Regions from separate parts of the Homo sapiens genome. Here region 1 is linked to region 2. The links are contacts of gene promoters, found by promoter capture Hi-C in human tissues and cell types (Jung and others, 2019). All regions are on one chromosome and are shown on one strand. The core of a region is centred on a gene start or on the middle of the fragment in contact, and the rest is flanking DNA. Distances in the headings are between cores, read along the strand shown. Region 1 overlaps IPO9 (importin 9). Region 2 holds the start of LMOD1 (leiomodin 1).

What was found. Contacts are between HindIII fragments. The study calls those that stand out against the background at their distance.
Region 1: a fragment that was not itself captured here is called in contact with the fragment with the promoter of LMOD1 in region 2 in 3 of the 25 tissues and cell types used here (IMR-90 fibroblasts, bladder and hippocampus).

The regions. Positions count from the first base shown.
Region 1 is chr1:201,847,395-201,851,715 of GRCh38, reverse strand. IPO9 (importin 9) reads right to left here. Exons shown (of 24, transcript NM_018085.5): 3 at 4,078-4,164; 4 at 3,122-3,323. Among named protein-coding and RNA genes, the nearest start is that of MIR6739, 14 kb to the left of the region's middle. The HindIII fragment of the contact is 5,341 bases long and covers 1-4,321 here.
Region 2 is chr1:201,944,697-201,949,096 of GRCh38, reverse strand. It overlaps LMOD1 (leiomodin 1), which reads left to right and starts at 2,549. Exons shown (of 3, transcript NM_012134.3): 1 at 2,549-3,017. The coding sequence starts at 2,757. The HindIII fragment of the contact is 9,839 bases long and covers 1-4,400 here.

The DNA of each region.
Region 1 (4,321 bases), core at 1,152-3,651, 97 kb after region 2:
CAGTACTTTCGCTTGGCAAGCTGGTTTGATGCATGTAATAAAATATGTACAGACTTACTAGGCCTCAACTCCTCTTTGTATATGTTACTCTTCTCAGATTTTATTGACCTAAAAGTCAGAGGCTGCTGCTAACTGGAACAAATGGGAATTTTCTATATAAATGTGACAAAAAGCAACCTATACACAGAATGAGACTCGAAGGTGACGGAAATATGGGTCGTATCTTTCCCTTCACGTCTCAAAAAAAAAAAAACCAAATACACCACACACAAGGCACTGAGACAGCACAAAGGACCCTGGATTCATGTTACAAAGCAGCAGAATAAAGCTCTTGAGTTCCAGTAACTATCCACTTTACCTGATGCTTTTCCACGTTATCACTATAGAAATGGACATATGGGCCGGGAACAGTGGCTTATACCTGTAATCCCAGAGCTTTGGGAGGTTGAGGCAGGAGGATCACTTGAGGCCAGGAGTTCAAGACCAGCTTGAACATAGCAAGATCTGCCAGTACATTTAAAAAAAAAAAAAAAAAAGCTGCATGTGGTGGCATGTGTCTGCAGTCCCAGCTACTTAGGATGCTGAGGCAGGAGGCTCGCTTGAGCCCAGGAGGTCAAGGTTACAGTGAGCTACAACAGTGCCACTGTACCTGAGCCTGGGTGACAGAGTGAGACCATGTCTCAAATAAATAAATAAATAAATAAAACTAAAAATAAAGCTAACCACTTGGGACATTTTGGGGGAAGATACACAGCTACAAACGCAAGCTGGCATTTTCAAGATTAAGGTACTCCACAATTTTGAACAATATCAATCCCCACGAGTCAAATGAAGATCAAATACTCAAGGTTGAATTTTCTTTACAGCTGTAATTTCCTCCTCAAGGATAAAGTCTGAGCTTTGAATGGTGAGTGTTCTATTTTATTTAGAAATTCAAGGAAATTAGTCCAAACAAATATGATAGATGGCATAATAACAAGTTTTATGAAAAATACAGTATAATTTAATTCTGCTAATAAAGTGCTTGACTGCTTTTTACTCTCCTATACTCATCCCTGGTATCAATTTATTAATACTTTATAGGTTTAATTCCAAAAGTTTTCTGAGGTGATTCAGCAAGTCAGAAAAATTCTAGGACTCCAGCAACATCTCAATCTCCAAACTTCTTTGAGAACGAAGAAAAAGCTGTATCTGGTGGATCAAATCTTCTAATCCTTAGCTGCTATATTTGCATTTCCTTTACACCATGAGCCTTAGTTGGTTCTCATCTATAAATAGATAAGTTTAATAGGAAGCCTCATTAAAGGGAAACTGGTATAGTATCTTGAAAAACTCTGAAAAGAATCAGTCCCATTCTCCTAATGGGCCTCTGTCCAACCACCAATGTCCTGCTATCTTCATGCATGCCTAAGTTTTTGTTGTCAGAGTACAGTCTACTCTCGTTTGAAAATATTTGGAGCAAGTATTTGGGAATGGGGCTTGGCTGCTAGCCACTCCATGTCTGGTGACTCCATTACAAAAGGAGACAAATTTCCCCCAACAGTTCTTTCCCTGTGGCTGGCAGAAAAGTGATCTCACTGAACAGTAATTTCCTTAGTCAAACACAATAAGAGCTCTTCAGCATCCAAATCAAGATAAATGTACAAAACCTTTCTCTCTAGGTTTGTCAAAAGAACCTGAATTTCATCTTGGAAGACTGAGAGGGAACAGGCTTCCTTTCCTTGGTAGAACATGTATCTGTTAATTGATATCCTGGCACTATGAAGTGGTGAATAAAGAATCCTAAAAGGCCAATTCCATGCAGAGGGGTGTGTGAAATCACCTGAATAATGAATGAGTCATTAAGCAGAAGAAAGGGCAATAAGCAGAGAAGTCAAAATCTGAGCAAGGAACATTCTGATCTTTTTGGTAAGTCTGTTCGGTATCTGAGCTAAAAACTGAAGCTTTGTCACAGGCAATCAATACGAATATAGTGGGTAATTCAAAAAGGCAGCTGGGGTCTGAGAAGAGGTCATTTTGAAACAAAAGGAGAAGAAAGATTTGCATTTGACAAAGAGTTGATATTATCTACCATTAACATCACATGGACTAGCAAAATTGGGCCTATGTGCCAAGTTCAGTAAACTGAGATTGAGAAAGAATAGAATTGGCATTCACAACTAAGCAAGAATACATATCAGGTAAGCTAGCAGGTCATAGAAAAAGAGATAAGATATTGGTGGGACTTCTACAAACCTATATGAACAAAGGAGAAAGATGATTTCTAAAGGATCAGTACAGGATGACTAAAGTCCAGGTAAGAATTTCTTGAAGGCAAAACAGAGTAGTGACTTCATTTAGGGAATAAGAAGCAGGGAGGAACTTGCAAAGGACTGGGAAACTCAGGCCATCCCTAAGGATATATGAAAGCAGATTCTGGGAGGGATTGATAGCTTAATCAGGTTTAGAAGAGATATCCATCAAATCTCTTTGAACTAAAAGTTGAAGTATTTTTATCAACTTCTCAGAACAGAGAGAAGGAAAAGATACTGAGACTACATATTCTCTAACTGGCTAAATGAAGGTCAGGATTACATGGCTATACTGTTTTTATCTTCTTTTTAAATACTTCTATAAAAATCCATTTTACAATTCTTAACTTTGCCTTGGTTGAACTAAGTGGACAAATAATATATAGTAATAATGATAATCATAGTAACTAAACTTTACTGAACAAGTCAATAAAGATAGATTAGCTAACATTTAAACTATACCAAAAGCTCCTTTGATGCAGACACTACTATCATCTTAATTTTATATAAAAGGAAACTCAGGCTCAAAGAAGGTAAGTGAAGGATCAAGGTGAAGCCACTACAAAAATCCAAAATCTGAATACTCCATCACTATGCTAATACTGTATCTGTAAGTGGTAGGTTTGGGAGTAGAAGTAATACTATACAAACTTAATTCCCTAGAAAAAAACAATAGAGCTGGAGGGTAGATGGAGAGATAAAAACTAGGAGGGAGGAATAACATCAGCAGCAATTCCTACTGGTCCAGGCCATTATATCACATAGCTTCTGGTAATACTCCTGTCGCTTGAGATCCAAGTACCAATACCAGGGAAAAGGGCTTCTGGTACCTGTCAGCACACGCATGGCTCCATGGACGGCATTTAAGTCTCCGCTCACCAACATCTCCATGAGCAGGTTGAAGAGTTGGGGCCAAGCTTCAGGCCAGTCCCAGTGGGCAATGGCTGACACTGCATAGGCCACACTGGAGCGCACTTTGCTTATCGATTCTCTCAACCCATTAGGCAATAGCTCCCGGATAACAATTTTTGCCTGTAAGGGATAAAAGTCCACCTGCTATTAGATCAGGTTAAAAGTGACTGGCAGAGCCCAGTTCAATTGGGAACTGTGTTGGAAAAACAATGAGTACAAGGTACTGCATGTCTACAGAAAACTCCTATACACAAACTTGACAATTCATTTGGAGGGTTCATCTGTGATCTCTAAACTTATGCAGTCCATTACAGTAGCCACTAGCTATACATAGCTATTAACATTTTAAAAAATTTAAAATTCAGTTCCTCAGTTGCACTAGCCCCATTTTAAGTGCTCAACAGCCATATGCAGCTAGTAGCTATTGTTTTAGGCAGCACAGACACAGAATATTTCCATAATTGCATAAAGCTCCAGTGGAAAACATTCCTCCAGACCTTATACCTCAAAATTTCTTGGGGACTCAGGATGACTGCACAGTACTGCACTAAGTACAAATGTTATTTCATTTAATTCTTAAACCCTTAGTTGGTATTTTTATTCTCACTTTGGAGATTTAGGAAATTGAGGCTTAGGTGTTAACTACATTTCCAATGATCTCATAGCTTGTAAAAAGCAAAACTGGAATTTGAACACAGACCAGCCTGATACTTGAGCTCTTTAATGTATAGCCCTATGCCCGCAATGCCAGCCACCAATCTCCTTTTCTGCCTAGTCTTTTGATTGCTCCATGCTGTCAAAGAATGTTATAGTCTAATCTCTTAAAATGGACCCTCAAATCTCCTCAGGTAGACTAATCAAGTAACTGACTTACCCTTTCTGTAGTTTCAGGAGGCCTAAATTTCTCTGATTGGGCACACCAGTGAGTCTCCACATATTGTTTCAAGATGACTGATGCCAGCTGTGAAGAGAATAAGCCAAGTAGTACAGCAAGAAAAAGATTTTTTTCACACATAAAAACTATATACATAGCCTGATACATCTGAAGTATATCTAAATCTGGCACAACATCCTAGGTTATTTATACACTGGCCTTATTTTTCTTTCCTATAAGAAAG
Region 2 (4,400 bases), core at 1,300-3,799:
TTAGAGGGTGTTTACTCTTGAGAGAAAGAAATAAAAAGATGAGAGAAAAGGTGGGATGGGAAGAAAAGAACCCAGGACAAGAGTAAATAAATAATTATAGCCAGGCGCTGTGGCTCACGCCTGTAATCCCAGCACTTTGGGAGACCGAGGCAGGTGGATCACCTGAGGTCAGGAGTTCAAGACCAGCCTGACCAACATGGAGAAACCCCATGTCTACTAAAAATACAAAATTAGCCGGGCATGGTGGCTCATGCCTGTAATCCCAGCTACTTGGGAGGGTGAGACAGGAGAATTGCTTGAACCCGGGAGGCGGAGGTTGCAGTGAGCCGAGATCGCGCCATTGCACTCCAGCCTGGGCAATAAGAGTGAAACAGAGTTTCCCAATAAATAAATAAATAAATAATTATAATAATTAATAATAAATATGGTGTTTACCATGTACTGGGTATATCAATGAAATGTTGTCATGTGTAGGACCTAATTTAATATTCACAACAATTGTATAAGGTTGGTATAACTGTTGTCCTTATTTTACAGATGATGAACTCAAGTCTCAGAAAAGAAGGTAGCTTGCCCAAGTCACATGGCCTGTAAGTAGCAATACCAGGACCAAATACAGGTCTATTGGCCTCAAAGGCCCAAGCTCTTCACTGTTAAATCATACTTCTATTCAGCCTCCTCTTGTTGTGTTTTCCCATAGCCCCTGTGCTTGCTCGCTCTTTCTTTCTTTCTTTCTTTCTTTCTTTCTTTCTTTTTTGAGATGGGGTCTTACTCTGTTGCCCAGGCTGGAGTACAGTAGCGTGATCACAGCTCACTGCAGCCTCAACCTTCTGGTCTCAAGCAATCCTCCCACCTCAACCCCCTGAGTAGCTGGGACAACAGATGCTCACCACCACATCAGGCTAATTTTGTTTTTTTTTTTTTTTTGGAGAGATGGGGGTCTCATTATGTTGCCCAGCCTGTTCTTGAACTCCTGGACTCAAGCAATCCTCTTGCCTTGGCCTCCCAAAGTGCTGGGATTACAGACATGAGCCACTGCACCTGGCCTGATTTTGTATCTTTAGTGATATCTCTTGCTCTTAGAACAATGCCTGATATATAATAGGCACTTGATAAATCACTCAATAAATATATACCTACGGTTTGACCAATAAGTTGGCTACTGACTCTTAAAATGACAACCCCCAGGTTTCCCTAAAGTCTTCTTCCACTCTTCCTATCAAGTCTGCCTGCCTTCCTTCTGCCCTTCAGTCCCCCCAGTGGACACCATTCCCCTCTTCAGCCTTAACCTAAAGTTGGACTAGTGGACATTAAATGGCACGGCCAAGTTTTAGTCCCAGACGATCCCTGGACTCAGCAAATGCTGATCAAGTGACTGTCTCTCTCTGGCTTAGGATGGAAAGATGCCAGGAAAGATCGAAGCATCTACCCTGATGGGTTACACCAGGGCTTCTAGAAGGGATTTTGTGGCAGGAGGAAGGGGGGCAGGGGATTGAATGTCTCTGTGACTTGTGCAGGGCAGCATGATGGATGAGCAGTGGAAAGCCCTTCTATGAAACATGCCAGACCTGTTGCAATCGTATCTCTCCCGACGGCCCAGAATTCTGTTTCCCTGAAGACATACTAAATCGTGCTCTGGATTTATATGTGGGTGGTGACCTGCCTCTGTGCTCCCAAAGGAGGTCTGTCTACAGATGCCCGGCAGAGGAAGAAACAGATGACAACAGGGGGAGGTTTGAACCCTCTTCCCAAGAGCCTTGGAACTTCATGGAAAGTGACAGCCCTTTAAGAGTTTCCCGACTTCTGCAGATCCTTCTCTCTTTCCCAAACAGCCTGCCAGTTTTCAGTTTTGGTACACAGTAAGGATTTATTCTCTCTCTCTCTCTCTCTCTCTCTCTCTCTCTCTCTCTCTCTCCCTCTCCTGCCTAGCTATCTCTATCTCTAAGTTTGTCTTTCTGTCTCCTGTCTCTCTCTTAAGAAGTGGCCAAAGGATCCTGGAGCCTCTGATGCTCAGCCTTCAGGTCCTCCTTGGCAGAACCTGGGTAGAAAGAAAATGGGTAGGCAGGGGGTTAGGAGTAACAGCTCCTCATCTTGAATCTAGACTTTCCTGGAGCTGTATACACCTGGGAGCCCCCCAGCACATTACCAAATACTGTAGAAGGAAGTCCATGAACCACACATTGACCACAGTGATACGTCCACCCGGTGATGGAGTAGTAAAATACGCTCTTGAACGTGCCCCGGGCTGGCGAGTTCACCGGCCCTCATGGCCTCGTCCCTGCTTGTCTGGCTCTCCGTGGCTGTGATCTGCTTCTGCCAGCCTACGCATTTTTGTATCTTTTTCTCATTGCGTGGCCCCTTGTCTTTAAAAGGCTAAACTGCTCTGTACTAAATTTGGTCACGCAGCGCTCCAAGATTCCCTGGAATGTCCTCAAGTTTCAAACAGCTCTGACAGCGAGGTAGGCCCGCCCCCAGCTTGGGGATTGGCTTCTCCTCTCCGGGCCTGGCAGTTGTCGGGTCTTATTGGCCGCTGATTAGACCAGCCGGGGTCCACTAGCCCTGGGCTTCAGGGAGGCTGCTGCGTCCAGTGAACACTTCAGCACCTGTAGCACAGAAGGGCCAAGGAGCTGCAGTCCTCGACCAGCAGGAGGTTTGCTCCTCAGCCCACTCGCTGCATCCAGATCAGCTCACCCCTCTCCCTTCCCTGCCCACCAGGACTCTGATAGCCCCTGGCAGCCACAGCCCATTTTGCCAAGATGTCTAGAGTAGCCAAATATCGCCGGCAGGTGAGTGAAGACCCCGACATCGACAGCCTGCTGGAGACCCTGTCTCCCGAGGAGATGGAGGAGCTGGAGAAGGAGCTGGACGTGGTGGACCCAGACGGGAGTGTTCCCGTGGGGCTGCGGCAGAGAAACCAGACGGAGAAACAGTCCACGGGTGTGTACAACCGGGAGGCCATGCTCAACTTCTGTGAAAAGGAGACCAAGAAACTTATGCAGAGGGAGATGTCCATGGATGTGAGTGAGCACAGCCCTGGAGGGGAGGAGGGAGACAGGGGAGGGCTGGAGACCCTGGCTTCATGATTAGGATGCTTCCTTCCTTAGAAGAAACGTTCTTGTTGGCAAAGGATTTTAATGCTTCAGAACTGATGATTATCCACTGAACTAGCGGTGCGAATCTCTTACTCCTAATTTCTGTTTTATAAGCAGAAGTCGGATATGTTGGAGGAACACAACATCCCACAAAATCAAATAGAGCTACTAGTAGAATGGGAGCTGGAAGGTGTCCTTGAAGAGTCCATTGTCAAGTTGACTCCATCCTGGTCCCACAATACCTTTGTTTTTCTCCACACTCATTCCATCCTATTGTGAGGAGGGGTAAAAAGAGAGAGTGATACTTTATGTCTCCTGTCAGCCACCCAAAAAGACAAAGCTAAGCCATTTTTTGTGGGAGAATAACTCATTTTCAAGTCCCCAACCCTATGGGCATCTCACGGCACATGGATCATTTCAGGAGGCTTGGGGGTAAATGAGTTTCCCAAAGCAAAGGGAGACAGGGACCAGGAGTCTATGGGCTGGGAAATGTGGCTTAAAGACCTGATAAGCTTCAAATTTATTCCCAGGGAAGATGTTTTTTGTTGTGGTTAGTTGGTTTTTGGTTTTGTTTTGTTTTTGCACTCTCCAGAGGAGCCTCTGGAGGGAGCATGCCCTCTTTTTGGTAATTAACCCTTTAGCAGCTGGCGAGGCCGCTTTGCTGGGGGTTGAAGATAGTCATAGAGGAGGGAAAAGGGGTGACGGTTTTGGAAGCATCTGCCCACACCTACAATGGGCTTAAGCACAACTTGCTTTCTGTTTTCCTGAGTTGGCATGGAGGAATTTTTTTTTTGTCACTATTGCATTGGTATGTGAGTTTTCTTTGGACAAACTAGCCTCCGATGAAGTATGACTTTGTGGGATACCTTTGTCCATGGGAAAGAGTGTTGCATAGGAAAATTGTTCAAGTCTTTGTTCTAGTTCTCTTATTCAGCCACATCTCTTGTACATTATCCATTACTTGTGAATTCTTGCAAGAAAAAGATCAGTCTCAATTCTTGCTTTTTGTTTTACTTCTATGGAAACTGAGGCACAGAGCTTCAAATGACATGCACATTCTCACAGAGGAACTGAGAATGGGAACATTATCATCCAAAATGCCTGCGGAATGACTGGCTGGGTATGAAATTGTGTTGACTGCTAGTCACAGAGCATATTGGTGGACACAGCCCTGACTCCTTTAGTGTAGCAATGGGAAAGAAGGGAGGAGGAGGGAAGGGGGTGAAGCAAAGAGGAGCTGGAACTCTGTCTCTGTCCCTACCGCCCCCCCCCGCCCCACCACCTATGTTTAAGCCTTTGCCAAGAAGA